4 separate regions of the Homo sapiens genome follow, and all the other regions are linked to region 1. The links are contacts of gene promoters, found by promoter capture Hi-C in blood cells and fetal thymus (Javierre and others, 2016). All regions are on one chromosome and are shown on one strand. The core of a region is centred on a gene start or on the middle of the fragment in contact, and the rest is flanking DNA. Distances in the headings are between cores, read along the strand shown. Region 1 holds the start of ITGA4 (integrin subunit alpha 4). Region 2 overlaps LINC01934 (long intergenic non-protein coding RNA 1934). Region 3 overlaps LINC01934 (long intergenic non-protein coding RNA 1934). Region 4 overlaps LINC01934 (long intergenic non-protein coding RNA 1934).

Region 1 (3,635 bases), core at 351-2,850:
CTTATTGCTGCAGGGGCTTCCAAAATTAGGTTTTCTGTGTTCAGTCTTGCATTCACACTTCTGAAACCCAGAGCTGACCGAGACAAATTCTTCAACTTCCTGTCAGTCCCAACATAGATTTAAAATTCCTAACCTGGCTCATGAGGTTCACCATGTATTCCTGCTTCCCTAAGTCAGCCTCATATCACACCAACCTGTGTGTGGAGTGGCTAAATACTCTAGCCAGGCAAGCTCTCTCAGTTCTTCTACCTGGCTCCTCTGGAGCCCTCCTTATTGCTCATCCCATTCTTAGCCTGATTCAAGATTCCTGGTCCTTCAAATCTCTCTTTAAGTGTCCTTACCTGGATCTTTCTCTAGTTAGTACAAATTTTTCTATCTACCATTGGAGCGAACATTTTTTGAAACTTTGTATCAGTCCTGCCTTACTCTTGGTGGAATCCTGTGGTCCTAGTCAAGTGCCTGCTCCATGAATGTGCTGAATAAATGAATAAGCATTTTAATTGTGTATCTGTCATTAGTGTCAGATGTGTTATTTATTCCAGCATGGTTTTAGCACACAGACACACTCTTTGATGCAGACTTTTCTTTTCTTTTTACATATAGCAACAATAAAAAACTAGACTTTCATCTCCTGAAAATATCAGTCTAATAATCACCTATGGCTGTCTCTCTGGTTGCTGAAGGAAAAAAAAAAAAAAGGCAGGGCACACCTGGATTGCATTAGAATGAGACTCACTACCCAGTTCAGGTGTGTTGCGTTGTGGGTCTCCGGCACATTTCAGAGGCTCATTAGGACCCTGACCCCACACTGGGGTTTACACCCCTAAAAGCAGGTGTGTCCCGTGGCAACTGAGTGGGTGCGTGAAAAGGGGGGATCATCAATTACCAGCTGGAGCAATCCGAATCGGTTAAAGTGAATCAAGTCACAGTGCTTCCTTAACCCAACCTCTCTGTTGGGGTCAGCCACAGCCTAAACCGCCTGCCGTTCAGCCTGAGAGGCTGCTGCTAGCCTGCTCACGCATGCAGCCCGGGCTGCAGAGGAAGTGTGGGGAGGAAGGAAGTGGGTATAGAAGGGTGCTGAGATGTGGGTCTTGAAGAGAATAGCCATAACGTCTTTGTCACTAAAATGTTCCCCAGGGGCCTTCGGCGAGTCTTTTTGTTTGGTTTTTTGTTTTTAATCTGTGGCTCTTGATAATTTATCTAGTGGTTGCCTACACCTGAAAAACAAGACACAGTGTTTAACTATCAACGAAAGAACTGGACGGCTCCCCGCCGCAGTCCCACTCCCCGAGTTTGTGGCTGGCATTTGGGCCACGCCGGGCTGGGCGGTCACAGCGAGGGGCGCGCAGTTTGGGGTCACACAGCTCCGCTTCTAGGCCCCAACCACCGTTAAAAGGGGAAGCCCGTGCCCCATCAGGTCCGCTCTTGCTGAGCCCAGAGCCATCCCGCGCTCTGCGGGCTGGGAGGCCCGGGCCAGGACGCGAGTCCTGCGCAGCCGAGGTTCCCCAGCGCCCCCTGCAGCCGCGCGTAGGCAGAGACGGAGCCCGGCCCTGCGCCTCCGCACCACGCCCGGGACCCCACCCAGCGGCCCGTACCCGGAGAAGCAGCGCGAGCACCCGAAGCTCCCGGCTGGCGGCAGAAACCGGGAGTGGGGCCGGGCGAGTGCGCGGCATCCCAGGCCGGCCCGAACGCTCCGCCCGCGGTGGGCCGACTTCCCCTCCTCTTCCCTCTCTCCTTCCTTTAGCCCGCTGGCGCCGGACACGCTGCGCCTCATCTCTTGGGGCGTTCTTCCCCGTTGGCCAACCGTCGCATCCCGTGCAACTTTGGGGTAGTGGCCGTTTAGTGTTGAATGTTCCCCACCGAGAGCGCATGGCTTGGGAAGCGAGGCGCGAACCCGGCCCCCGAAGGGCCGCCGTCCGGGAGACGGTGATGCTGTTGCTGTGCCTGGGGGTCCCGACCGGCCGCCCCTACAACGTGGACACTGAGAGCGCGCTGCTTTACCAGGGCCCCCACAACACGCTGTTCGGCTACTCGGTCGTGCTGCACAGCCACGGGGCGAACCGATGGTGAGTAGAGTTGGACTGATGCGCCCTCAGCAGCTCAGAGCGGCGTGAGAATGGCGCCCTAGGGATTCCCTGCCCGATTCAAACTTTCCTCCCTCCCAAGGAGGCAGGAGGGAAACGCTGCGAGAGCCAGCTCGCTGGAAATCTGCCAGGGAAACTAACTTATCTTGGGGCGGCAGCGCCCCGGGTGCGTTATGGTGCAAGGTCTTGGAGCTTCGAGTCGGGGGTGGTGGGCGGAGGAGGAGGTGGGGAAGCTGCCCTGCTGCGGACTGCACATCTGTGGCGACAGGGAGCTCAGTGGGCAGCACAGCTCACGTCTGAGCGCACGTGCACGTGTCTCGCTTTAGGCTCCTAGTGGGTGCGCCCACTGCCAACTGGCTCGCCAACGCTTCAGTGATCAATCCCGGGGCGATTTACAGATGCAGGATCGGAAAGAATCCCGGCCAGACGTGCGAACAGCTCCAGCTGGGTGAGTTGGGTATGGGACCAGGAGTTAGTGACCTCCCGACCCCCCATGTGGACCCCACCATAGGGCAAGTCCTGGAAAGATTCACGTTGCCTGTTACTTCTGGTTTAAAGAGCATAAAGTTTTCAGTTTCAACTCCATCTCATCTTGCCTCCTTAATATAAAAGGGATTCCCTTTCTGTTAATATCGTTCTCCCTTTTCCTTATGGCAATGATTGCAGTACTCTGACAACTATGCTAGAGAAATTTCTTATGATACCTTCTCTTCATCTCTCCCCGTCTCTCCGTGTGTAAAGCACATTTTAGACTCTCTCAGCGTATTAAGGACAGGATCCAGCTAAGCCAAGACTTGAGAATTTTATTTCCATCTTTGACCTATCAACCCTCTTAAAGAACAGGCTAAGGAGCATATCAGGAATAGCAATTGGAATTGATCCCATATCCCGTCGTTTAACCTAAAGGCCTAAAAAAAAAAGTGATAGTTTTACTTACAATATACAATCTAAAAGAAAAGGAAAATTGGCATCTTCATCGTTAATGTAGTATAATTTTCCATTCCCAAAACCGTCATCCAAAACTCATGTTATATGGGTCCATCTTTTTGCAGTCATTTCTCAATGTCTCAGATTTGTGACAAGTTGAAAAATGTGTACTGATAGAGGGGAGAAGTTTCATGTTTCAAAGCCAAAGACAAGTTTGTTGCACACAGGCAAGTGGGGAAAGAGGAAGGAATATTAAATAACAAGACCTATCTTGTTCCAAAGTGTTACTGCTATATATATTGCTTAACTTTTTTCCCCTTAAAGCAACCCTGGGTCATGGTTGACATTGTTCCTAGTTTATGTATGAGGACTGTGGCTCAGAGTTGCAAATACCTTTTTAAAAGTTACTTAGCTAGTGACTGATAGGTGGGAACTAAAGTCAAACTAGGGTCTGAATGCGTCCAAAGTCTAAGCCATTTTCTTCCATGTATGTATCTTCAATGCAAATAAAATTAAGTGAATGGTTTAATATGTTGTCTGCTGAGCTGATGGGTCATCTGTAAACGGTGAATAAAATTGGTACTTCTTTATATTTCTTTGCTATAAATGGACTTTTGAGATTAG
Region 2 (3,635 bases), core at 794-3,293, 240 kb before region 1:
AACAAAAATAGACAAATTGGACTTAATTAAATTAAGGAGCTTCTACACAGCAAAAGAAACTATCAACAAAGTAAAGAGAAAATCTACAAAATGGGAGAAAGTGTTTGCAAACTATGCATCTGACAAAGGTCTAATACTCAGAATTTATAAAGAACTTAAATCAACAAATAAAAACAACCCCATAAAAAATGGGCAAAGGACATGAACAGGTATTTCTTCAAAGAAGACATAGCCAACAAGCAAATGAAAAAATACTCAACATAACTAATTGTAGGGAAATGCAAATTAAGCTGCAATGAGATACTATCTTATGGCTATTATTTTGAAAACTCAGAAAAACTATTATTTTTAAAATCAAAAAATTAAAGATGTTGGTGAGGTTCCAGAGAAAAGGGAAAATTTATACACTGCTGGTGTGGATGTTAATTAGTTTAACCACTATGGAAACCAGTTTGGAGATTTTTCACAGAACTTAAAACAAAATTACTATTCAATCTAGAAATCCCATTACTGGGTATATACCCAAAGGAATATACATCATTCTACAAAAAGGCATGCATAGGTATGTTCATTGCAGGATTATTCACAATAGCAAATATATAGAATTAACCTAGATATCTGTCAACAGTGGACTGGATAATAAAGACGTGGTATATATATACCATAGAACACCTCCCAGCCATAAAAAAGAATGAAATCATGTGCTTTGTAGCATCATGGATGGAACTGGAGGCCATTATCCTAAGCAAATTAACACAGGAGCAGAAAACTAAATACTGCACTTTTCACTTATAAGTGAGAGCTAAATATGGTGTACACATGGACACAAAGAGGGGAACAATAGACACTGGGGCCTACTTGAGGGAGGAGGGTGGGGGAAGGGTGAGGGTCAAAAAACTACCTATCAGATACTATGTTAGTGAGCATAGTACCTGGGTGATTAGATTGTCTGTACACCAGACCCCAGTGACATGCAACCTACCCATCTAACAAATATTCACATGTACCCCTTGAACTGAAATAAAATTGGAAAAAAATATGAATAATAATATTTTATTTTAAAAATTATTTAAAAAACTACTGTCTACAGGTAATGTTGGTGTGGGATTGGGCATTGTATAAGAAAGTAGGATGTAGAGGAAACTGTTGAACAACTCCAGGCTGCCTGCCTTGCTTTAAAGACACTCAAATTCAGTACAAAACAAACATCCAAACAAAAAGTAAAAAGCAAAAAGAACACTTATGCTAGCTAACCAAAATATTTCCAAGGGCAAGATTTAGTTGTTTTGCTGTTTCTTCTTCACTGTACCTTACTCTACCCTAAATGGTTTTTTCAAAATATTCACCCAAGAAATATGAGGCTCTTTCAGAGCAGGAATTCTAGGGTAAGAAAATATATTTTTTTCTGTGCAGTGTTTGAATGTGCTCATTTATTTCAGATGTAATGACATTAGGGTGACAAGTATTGGTTTTTACATGTACGCTTGAACTTCATTTGTATTATGTAGAAAATACTTTGAGTAACAGGTTCTTCAGGAGTCAAGAATCTGTGTTATATTTACAAGTATTTTGAATTCCCTTTATATATTTTGAGTCTTCCTCTTGCTTCCCTCCTTAGAATGTGGTGCTATAAAATATTTTCCTCCTCAGATCATTCTAAGGAGGAAAATATTTTAACAGCAGTGCATAATGACATGTAGACGTGATGAGAGTCATACTTCACGTGTGATCTTTAGGGCTTATAGGTAGGAAAACTGGTTCATCCATGTGAAATCACAACAGTTTAATTTCAGCCTAAATCAGAAAACCAACTCTCAATTAACAGCCTGCATCCTGATTCTCCACTTACTCTGCTATGTGGTTTTAGGTGACAATTTTGTTTTCTAATCTAAGACTCTGGATGAAGTGCTGACCCATTCTAAGCTGATGCAGAGGCTTAAATTAAAATGAGATACAAGTAGAGATTGGCAGGGACCTGGCATTTTGGCAATTTTCTCATTTTGATAATTTTAACATTGCCCTTGTTTGAATCACTTCAGGGCCAAAATACATCTATTTCACATTTATGCAAAACAAAGCAATGAAATCTTGGTGGGAAGGGGCACAATTATCTTGTTCTATTTTTTTTCTCAATTATTAGATTTTCAGTCATGGATTTTGTAGCATCTCTGTGTGTGGTATTTTCAAAGAATAATGTAACTGAATAGACTATTAATGCATTTAAAGCTAAACATTGATGATGTGTAATGAACAACCTGCTAAATGTTAATACAATTTATCCTTTTTAAAATTTATAAACATGACATATTGCATGCACTTAGTGCTAATCTATTTTAGACATTCATTTGGGTTGACCTATGACCATAATATATTATGTTCCTTGAGATATTTATCTTGTCATTTGGAAACGAGATTACAATTAATGGGACACACATGACTTTAAATTACTACTTCAACTAGAGATGTGTGAGTAATGAATTAGCCATAGCTTTGAACCCCTCTGCTTATAATTTAAATTACCAGCCTTTAGCTGGTACTTGATTGTGATCCATTAAATAAGTCACAGAATCAAAGAACCACATATTGTTTTTGTTGCTAGCTCTATCAGGGATATTTTCCCATTTAATTTACCTAACCCCAGGCTAATTTATCCAAATTCATATATTAAAAATAAACATGAGAGAGAGCACTTATGCATTTTGGTTAACAGTAAAATAAAATCATAGCCAGAGTCTATCCAAACTAGATGTACAAAAATTATCCTTTTTCTGCTGAACTTTTAAGGAGCAAACAAAAAAATGATATTGGAGAAAGTGAGCTCATATGAGAGACTTCATCTGCAAAGCATTTTGCAGTAGAGGACTTCTGCTATAGTTTGAATATTTGTCCCCTCCAAAACTCATGTTTAAACTTAATCCCCAATGTTGCAGTAATGAGAGGTGGGAGTTTTTAAGAAGTAATTGGACCATGAAGACTCAGGCCTCATGAATAGATTAATCCATTCATGGACTAATGTTAGCACACTTTGCCTCCTGGCCATGTGATGTCCTGTGCCATTTCAGGACTTTGCAGAGTCCTCACCAGCAAGAAGATTCTTCACCAGATGTGGCCCCCTTGACTTTGGACTTCTCAATCTCCATAACTGTAAAATGTAAATTCCTTTTCTTTGTAAATTTCAGGTATTCTGTTATAAGCAACAAAAAATGAACTAATATAGCCCCTTAATAAAAAGTTTAATTTCTTATATTTTATATACTCCTTTCTCAACACTGACTTTGCTAGACTATACATTCTGGGAAGCACAGAATAGAAACAATAAATATTTATTAAGTGATGTCTGATAATAAATGATAACCATAGTAATAGATCCCTAAAAATCCTGAGTAATGGCAGATTAAATAATGCTCAGTAGCCTCCATTTGGTATGACTGGACGGATATATTTTTATTGTGTGTATTTAAGGTATACAGCATGTTTTGATATATATAATGAAATGATTACTATGGTCAAGCAAATTAACATATCAATTTCCTCACATAATTACTATTTTTGTGATAAGAGGACCTAAAATCTATGATCTTAGCAAATTTCTGGTGTACAATGCAATATTATTAACTATGGTCATCATACCATAC
Region 3 (3,635 bases), core at 641-3,140, 200 kb before region 1:
GTATCAGTCAGAGTCCAGGTGGGAAATATTCAATGTGAACATTTCAATCAGAGCGACTTTAATGCTGGACACTGTTTACACAGGTGATGTAAGAGCCAAGGAGCCAAACAGGAGATGGTGAACAAACCCAGAGATTGGCAACAGCAGGAAATCACCATACACCTAGGACTAGAGGCCCACAGAATATGTGATGTGGTGTTACCAGAGCCCAGAAGCTGGTGCTATGGTCACCAGCACAAGATGCTTCTGGAGACACAGAGAAGGGAAAAATACCCTGTCCTTGCTCTGTAGCCTGCTCATCAGTCTTCCATCGTTGCCTCCCATTGGCTGAGCCTACCTCCGTGCTAGAGGGCAAGGGAGCCTGGGAAGTGTGGTTTCCTGTAATGCTGGGCAGAGGAAGGACAGGGCTGGAGCAGATCTGTCTGAGCAAAAAGGGCATATAGTCAGCCTGTTACACGGTACCTAACACAGAGTAACTTGAGGTTTTGAGGGCAACTTCCTGAGAAACTTTTGGAAAATGAATACAAATTAAAAAGTTGATATTTATTTCTCCTCTGTAACTGCAATCAGAACAACATTGTGACTTTCAAATGCTATTGAAAGCAGAGAATGTAACAGCCATCTAAAATAGGGGCACATGAGTTTTCAGCTGCTGGACTAGCCTTCAGTCCACCCTTCCCCCTCCATTGCATTACCTTATTGACATCACCGTGTACTTCTTCTCTAGTTATCAAAACTGCGGAGCATCCACCAAAAAGAACAGTTCTGTCATTTAAAATGGAACAGATGAAAGTTTTCCATGATGCAAGAGTGGGATTTTAAAGATAATCGTGTTTCTGCTCTTCTCTAATTAGGACTGGACTTTAGTTTGTATTCTGCAAATGATTTATGATCTCCTGGCTAGAAGAATGAAAAAGACTCATAGTTTTAGATGTGTTGCCTTTGGCCTACTATAGGTCTCTCTGCAAGTAACTGTGCTTACATAGAAATAAAGAACACATGTGGTATGTGGTTGGGTCAGCATTTGCACCTTGCAGCTTGTCCTCAGAGCCCGTGCTATACCCATCATGTTGTGCAGTCAACCCTCTCAAGTAGTCCCGGATGTGGAGACAGAGAGGACAATTAGCGCAGACTTCTCTACAATTAGGAAGAATTTGATTTGGTGAGGCCCTTCTGAGGCTCTATTTGGACAAATATGCTTGACTGGCTCTCAACTGTGGGGGATGAAGAATTATCTCATGACCAAACGAGAGGCAAGAGAGTAGTGGCCAAGGATATGGAGTCTGGTCCATTTCACCTGGCTTCTTAGCTATTTTACTTGGATTTGGAGTGTTGGTTACTTCATCTATAAAATGATATTTTGTATCCACCTCATAGGGCAGTTTTAAGAATGAAATGAAATAATATATGTAAAGCACTTGTCACATAGTGAGTAGTTCTCAACATATAGTGATTATATTATTATTATGATTGTTATTATGAATTTGGAACCCAGATTATATACTGTTTTACTATGATAAATCCTAATTTACCCCGATACACTCCCCAAATCTATCTCTTCATGTAGGCATTTAACATTAATAAGCCCTTCCGAAGGCTATAGCTTTAAACTATGGTTTAGTTCTAAATCTTCTGTCTTTGTTTAACAGCAAAATAAATGGGAATCAGCTCCCCACTGAAAACTTCCTCAAGATTAACAGAAACAGTAAAAAAAGAAAAAAAAAATCCTTAGAGCTTTCAAGCTCCTTCGATATTCACTATTGTGAATATTGTTACCAAGTAATGTCCTAATAGTGTCTCCCCTTGGTATACTCTTTGTATGCTAAGGTCCCAGTGCACCTAGGCTATATGATGGTCCACATAATTGTCCCATGCCTATGTCCCCTGGTCACGTGTTGTTCTTGTTTCCCATCTACCTAGAAAATCACCCCCTTTCTCAACCTATTAAAAAGTTAGTCCATCTTACATGTTTATATTTCACAAGGCCTTTTCTTATCTTCTTAAATAAATGTGATTCTCCCTCTGATCTCTGAACTTACAGTGCTTCTTTGTACCTATCCTACTGCAATCACTTACTACCTTGTATTATGATTGTGAACCTGTCTGAGCCTTCCTTGCTATGATAAAGATGTAGGAACTGATATTACATCTGGACATTCCTTGTCGCAGCTTTCATTGTGCCTTGCACAGAGTAGTCATTTTAAAATTATGCAGATAATTTAATGTAGAAAAATTTGGGAAGAATAATATTTTCAGTTCAGTCCCCTTAGCCTCTGGCTCTGTCCCTCAGCTCAGCCGTATTCTGGTTGGACACTTTGTTCTCTGATTTTACATTAAACATTGTCTAAGTAAACTATGCATTGCAGAGATCATCTTTGAAAAATGATATTCAATGGGAAACATACTCCCATTTGTTTTACTGTTAAATAAAGGCAAGAGAGTTTGGAATTAAAACCCAACCTACTACAGCCTTTGGAATAGTTCTTTAATTGACCGTTACATATGTACATGGGAATAAAAACTCTCTTTATTGAATTGAGGAATATACCACCAAACAATGCTTGCTTTCCCAGATACCAAGGAAATAAGCATGCTTTCAGTGAATCAAAATCTTCTGCACTAACTCTTTCCTTCTGCAGGAGATCCTGTTGTTTGAGAGGAGGCAGAACACCCAAAATTCATTGCTCAGAACACACATACACCCACACACCAAATTTTACTTTTAAAAAGTTGTCAATTCATAGACATTATAGAAATTGGCAAGTTGGACCCAAGGAGAAACATTCTGATTTTCTTATGTTTAAGTATATGTCATGATAAAGATGAATGTGACTAGAAAAGCAAACACATTTTGAATCAACAGGCCATAAATACACTCTTTTATACATCATTTGGCATTGGAGTATTGCTGGTAGTATATAGTATGTGAGTATGTATTATTTAATGTGGTAAGAACCATCCTGTGGGAGAAAACAGAATGAAATAAAAGCCCCAGCTTTCTAGACTTGTTTCTGCTGAGGGGCTCTGTGACAGTGTGGCAACTGTCCAGGCTTTAAGCACTTGGCCATTGCATTTGGATTTTAAAAGAGCCCAACCCATAAATTCTGGTTGAAATTAGAGCTGGTGAAAAGAAATATACCCTAGGAGTTATTAATATGTAAATCTAGTAATCTGGGAAATTGAACGATCTCAGATTAGGGTTTCTGAATTTATGCAATCTAATTTTGACTGAAATGACACAACACTTCAACAGTTCTGTATAAATTTGACAGCAAATTGCATAATGTTTCTTTAAAATTAGTACAGAGAAAGAATGCTTCAGCAGAGTATAAGGCAAGAACACACATAGCTACAATGCATCACACCAATGTTCCATGTACTCTGAACTCTCATTTCCAAAACAGCCAATGCCATATGGTATGGTAAATTACAAAATCCAATAGTAAAGGGGTTCATGCCTTTATGAATGGGGCCAAATGGTTCCTTTAGTTTATCTTCGTCAGACTTAGAATGTTTTATCTCAGTTCTGGTACAAAGAACCAATTTTTCTTATCTCTGCCAATAGTACTGCCATTTAGAAGGATAGCACTGATAGCTGGAAATGTTTTTTGAAATTTCTCAACAGACACGCCTGT
Region 4 (3,635 bases), core at 575-3,074, 130 kb before region 1:
GGTTAACTGTTAAATCTTTTTGAAAAAGGCCTTAAATGTTTATTTTTCTAAATTATTAGCTTCAAAAATTAATTAGCCATACCTGTGATCTCACGGCAATCCCACCTTCTCAATAGAGTGATGCTATTTATCCCTCTTGACCCCCCCTTTTTGTTTATTATCACTATCTCTTCAATTGTATGGTTCTTATCATTTTTTTAAGTATGTTCTAATTTTATCCATAAAAAGAAACTTCTTCACTTGACTATACATCCCTGTCCTGCAACTGCTTCATCTCCTTCTCACTACTACTTTTCTAGAAAGAATTGTCAATTCTAGCTGTCTTCATTTCTCACCTCCCTGGGCTTCTGCCACATTACTCCCTGGATTTTCCTTTTACCTCTGGGAGGCTGCTTCTCAGTCCTTTTTATAATGCCATCCTCCTCCACCAGACCTAGATGTGTGTAATTCCTCAAGGGTTAACCCTAGGTCCCTTATTTCCTCTCTCTGGGACATTTATGCCAAGAGTTTCAAATGACACTATAAACAAATGACTTGCAAATAGACAACTCTAGTCCCAGGCCTCCTCTCTCCCCACCCCAGGACTCCAGATTCATACTTGCAACTGCCTTCTTGACATCTCAAGTAACTGTCAAAAGTGCCTTACAATCAATGCATCCATAACCAAATTCTTGATTGTTCTCCCTGAACGAATTTATTCTTTCATCCCCGAACAAAGAGAACTGTGAGAAAGCCAAGAGTGAGTGATGAAAAGAGTAGTTGGAAAGGAGCTGGGAGAAGTGGCCCAGCACCTGATCATGTCTAGCCTTGGAGGTCATGGCAAGGACTTCGGATGTTACCTTGAGATGCAAAGCGATTTGAAACTTTTGAATAGGGAAATAACGATATTTGTGTTTGAAAGGGTTCCTTCGTCAATAGTGTGGGTGAGAGTGGAGAAGAGAAGCCAGTAGAAAATCTATCACAGAAGCTTAGGTAATAGATAACAGAGGCTTGAAAGAAAGTGGTAGAAATGGAAGTGATTAGGTGTGGTCAGATTCTGATACCTTTTCAAGGTAAAGTAAGCAATATTTGTTGATGGGTTAGATGTAGAGTATGAGATAAAGAGAAAACTCCAAGACAGCTCATGAGATTTTTGTTATCAGTCTCTAGTGAGGGAAACTTAGAGAGAAGGACACATTGGGGAAGGAACTGGAATCAAGAGTTGAGTTTAAAATCTGCTGATTTCAGATGCTTATTAGACATCAGGTGAAGATGCTGAGTGGGCATTGGCATTTACAAGTTAAGTTCAGAGTAGAGGTGAGACCAGCAGATATAAATTTGGGAGACATCAGCATATATAGATGATAATTAAAAACATGTAGGAGTCAATGTAGATTGGAGATGAGAAGAGATACACACACTAAGCAAAGAAAATTGGTACAAAATGGGCTTCCTCTATTTTTGTGGCAGCCACCTCTGATTAGTATTTATTTAAAACAAAGAAAACATACCTTCAGGTAGGGGGTTGGTCAATTTTCTTTCATAGCCTTACAATTTAGTCCCCACTTCTTCATATTAGAGGCTTTAGAAAGAGTCTCTTAATATAAGCTGGACCCTTCACAATATTGAGAATCCAAGTCAAGAGAAGCTATGCCACTCCTGGCTTTGAGTTGGATGGGGGTCATGCATTTCTCTTCTCCTAGCTCCGATAGGGAGTTTAAGAAAGCTATTGATCCACACCAAAAGGAAAAGTTCTCCAAGGTTGGTGGTTCTTATCTCCCCCATGGCCTGCCCTCATGTCAGCTCTCATCCCTCCTAATCTAGATATTTCAATGAGTACCTAATTGGTTTTGCCAAAATATATTTCATTACTTTCAGTCACAATTCATTATTCTCTTAAGAAGATCAGTAATATTTTATTCCATTTGGTCCCATCTTTGCTATATTTAGCCATATTTAATTTAGGTATGTGGTTTTCATTTAGATATGTGGTTTATTAATCTTGTTCCCTGGTGTCAGACACAGTTAAGTTCCTTAATAGATACAACCAGCCTGTGAAAAAACAGGCATATGGATGTTAAGTAAATTTCATCAAGATCACATAGCTAATAAGTGAGACCTTGTTAGACTTTGCTTTCCACAGAGTCACAGAAAGTGATTAATTTCTAAAAGATATAATATTCTTATTCTTATGTTTCAGATATTTTTTGTTGATGTGACAGAATTTTTAGTTTTTTAGAATAAAAGTGCAAAAAAATCCAAGATATCATCATCATCACCATCAACAATGTTATAGGATTACTTTAAAATATTCACAACCATGTTTCAAAGATGCTTAGATTTTATAGATAACTTATTGGCACATGTGTATGTGATCTGTGAGTTTTGAATTCTGTAGAAATATAAACATTTTACCTTAGTAAATACCTGTTTGAGGAAACAAAAGGGTCTTCACTTCATAAAGTTTAAATTCATAAGCATAGTATATAAGCTCTCCATGAGCTGAATCCTACCTAAATCTTCAGCATTCTCTTTGCTGGTCTCATGCTGATGCCCTGCTCACCAATGTATTTAGTTACTCACATTCTTTAAACATAACCAGGCTCTTTTCTCTCTCTATGCCTTTATTTGTATGTTCCCCACTTCTTGGAATGCTCTTGGCCTCATTGTTTCCTGTGAAAAAAAAAATTCTACTCCTCTTCCAAAGCTTAGTTCAAGCATCATCTGCTTATGAAGTCTTTCCAGTCATTATTACTCCTGCTTGTACCCTGTAAATGCCCAAAATGTAACAATCATTACATTTTACGCCATTCATTTCTTTACATTTGTTTCTCTCCCATTCAATTTTGAGCTGATTCAGGGCTGAGATACCATGTCTGATTAATATTAGTGCCCCACAGCATTTCAGTAACATAGATGTGCTTAATAAGATTTTGTTATATTCAGTGGTAATAGTCAAATTTTTGAATATCTTGTTCAATACTGAGCAAGAAATGACCAATCTGAAATGATCAATTGAACATCTAAAGGGAAACCTTACTGGGTCATATTTCAGCCCTTCAGATTTCAGCCCTTCACATTTCACTTTATTTCCATTATATGCCTTCTTTCTTTATAATTTTGATCTCTGTGGATCTGGTGAAATAATATATAATCAATGATTTTATAGTTAAATACATAGTTCTTTTCAAAACATATTTTTAAAAAACAGTGCTGGTCTACACTCTCTTACCTGTCCTTTATAACATGTCAAATTCCATGACAAAATCTTACCAGATATTTATATTAACACATCTTCCAAATTATTTAAAAGATCATTGCTTTTTCAATTTCTAAAGTGAGAGTTTTGGCACTCTTCCTGTACTTCTTATAGGGAAGTGCTTTTTTCTTGCCTCTGACACAGCTGAGATCAATGAAATTATAAGCCTTTTATTGAAAGATTATTTATACAGAAGTCAGAACTATCTTAGCCCTTGACAATGTTAAATAAAAATCCACTAACTGACAGTTGATATTCCACATTATGCAAGGTGAGAAACCAGCCTGTAAGACCAAAGCAACTGTGCATGCAGGTAGGAAAAGAGTTAAAGTATGCAAAGAAGGTGCTCTTTTTTGGCCTCCTAGATTTAGAGATGTTCTTCTACTGAACGCACTTA

Evidence for each region. Contacts are between HindIII fragments. The CHiCAGO score rates a contact against its expected background, and 5 or more counts as called.
Region 2: a contact is called between a fragment that was not itself captured here and the fragment with the promoter of ITGA4 in region 1, in 7 of 17 cell types (naive CD8 T cells, total CD8 T cells, total CD4 T cells and 4 more). The highest score is 11.4, in naive CD8 T cells.
Region 3: a contact is called between a fragment that was not itself captured here and the fragment with the promoter of ITGA4 in region 1, in 14 of 17 cell types (total CD4 T cells, total CD8 T cells, naive CD8 T cells and 11 more). The highest score is 14.4, in total CD4 T cells.
Region 4: a fragment that was not itself captured here is called in contact with the fragment with the promoter of ITGA4 in region 1 in 10 of 17 cell types (naive CD8 T cells, total CD8 T cells, erythroblasts and 7 more); the score reaches 14.9 in naive CD8 T cells.

Annotation. Positions count from the first base shown.
Region 1 is chr2:181,455,786-181,459,420 of GRCh38, forward strand. ITGA4 (integrin subunit alpha 4) reads left to right here and starts at 1,601. Exons shown (of 28, transcript NM_000885.6): 1 at 1,601-2,066; 2 at 2,411-2,532. The coding sequence starts at 1,870. RefSeq lists enhancers at 1,108-1,217, 1,938-2,127, 2,188-2,237, 2,598-2,647 and a silencer at 1,398-1,787. The HindIII fragment of the contact is 9,740 bases long and covers 1-3,635 here.
Region 2 is chr2:181,212,223-181,215,857 of GRCh38, forward strand. The region is part of intron 1 of LINC01934 (long intergenic non-protein coding RNA 1934); the gene reads left to right. Among named protein-coding and RNA genes, the nearest start is that of LINC01934, 90 kb to the left of the region's middle. The HindIII fragment of the contact is 8,503 bases long and covers 1-3,635 here.
Region 3 is chr2:181,252,598-181,256,232 of GRCh38, forward strand. All of the region lies in intron 2 of LINC01934 (long intergenic non-protein coding RNA 1934), which reads left to right. Among named protein-coding and RNA genes, the nearest start is that of MIR4437, 51 kb to the right of the region's middle. The HindIII fragment of the contact is 6,744 bases long and covers 1-3,635 here.
Region 4 is chr2:181,322,917-181,326,551 of GRCh38, forward strand. All of the region lies in intron 3 of LINC01934 (long intergenic non-protein coding RNA 1934), which reads left to right. Among named protein-coding and RNA genes, the nearest start is that of MIR4437, 19 kb to the left of the region's middle. The HindIII fragment of the contact is 1,719 bases long and covers 966-2,684 here.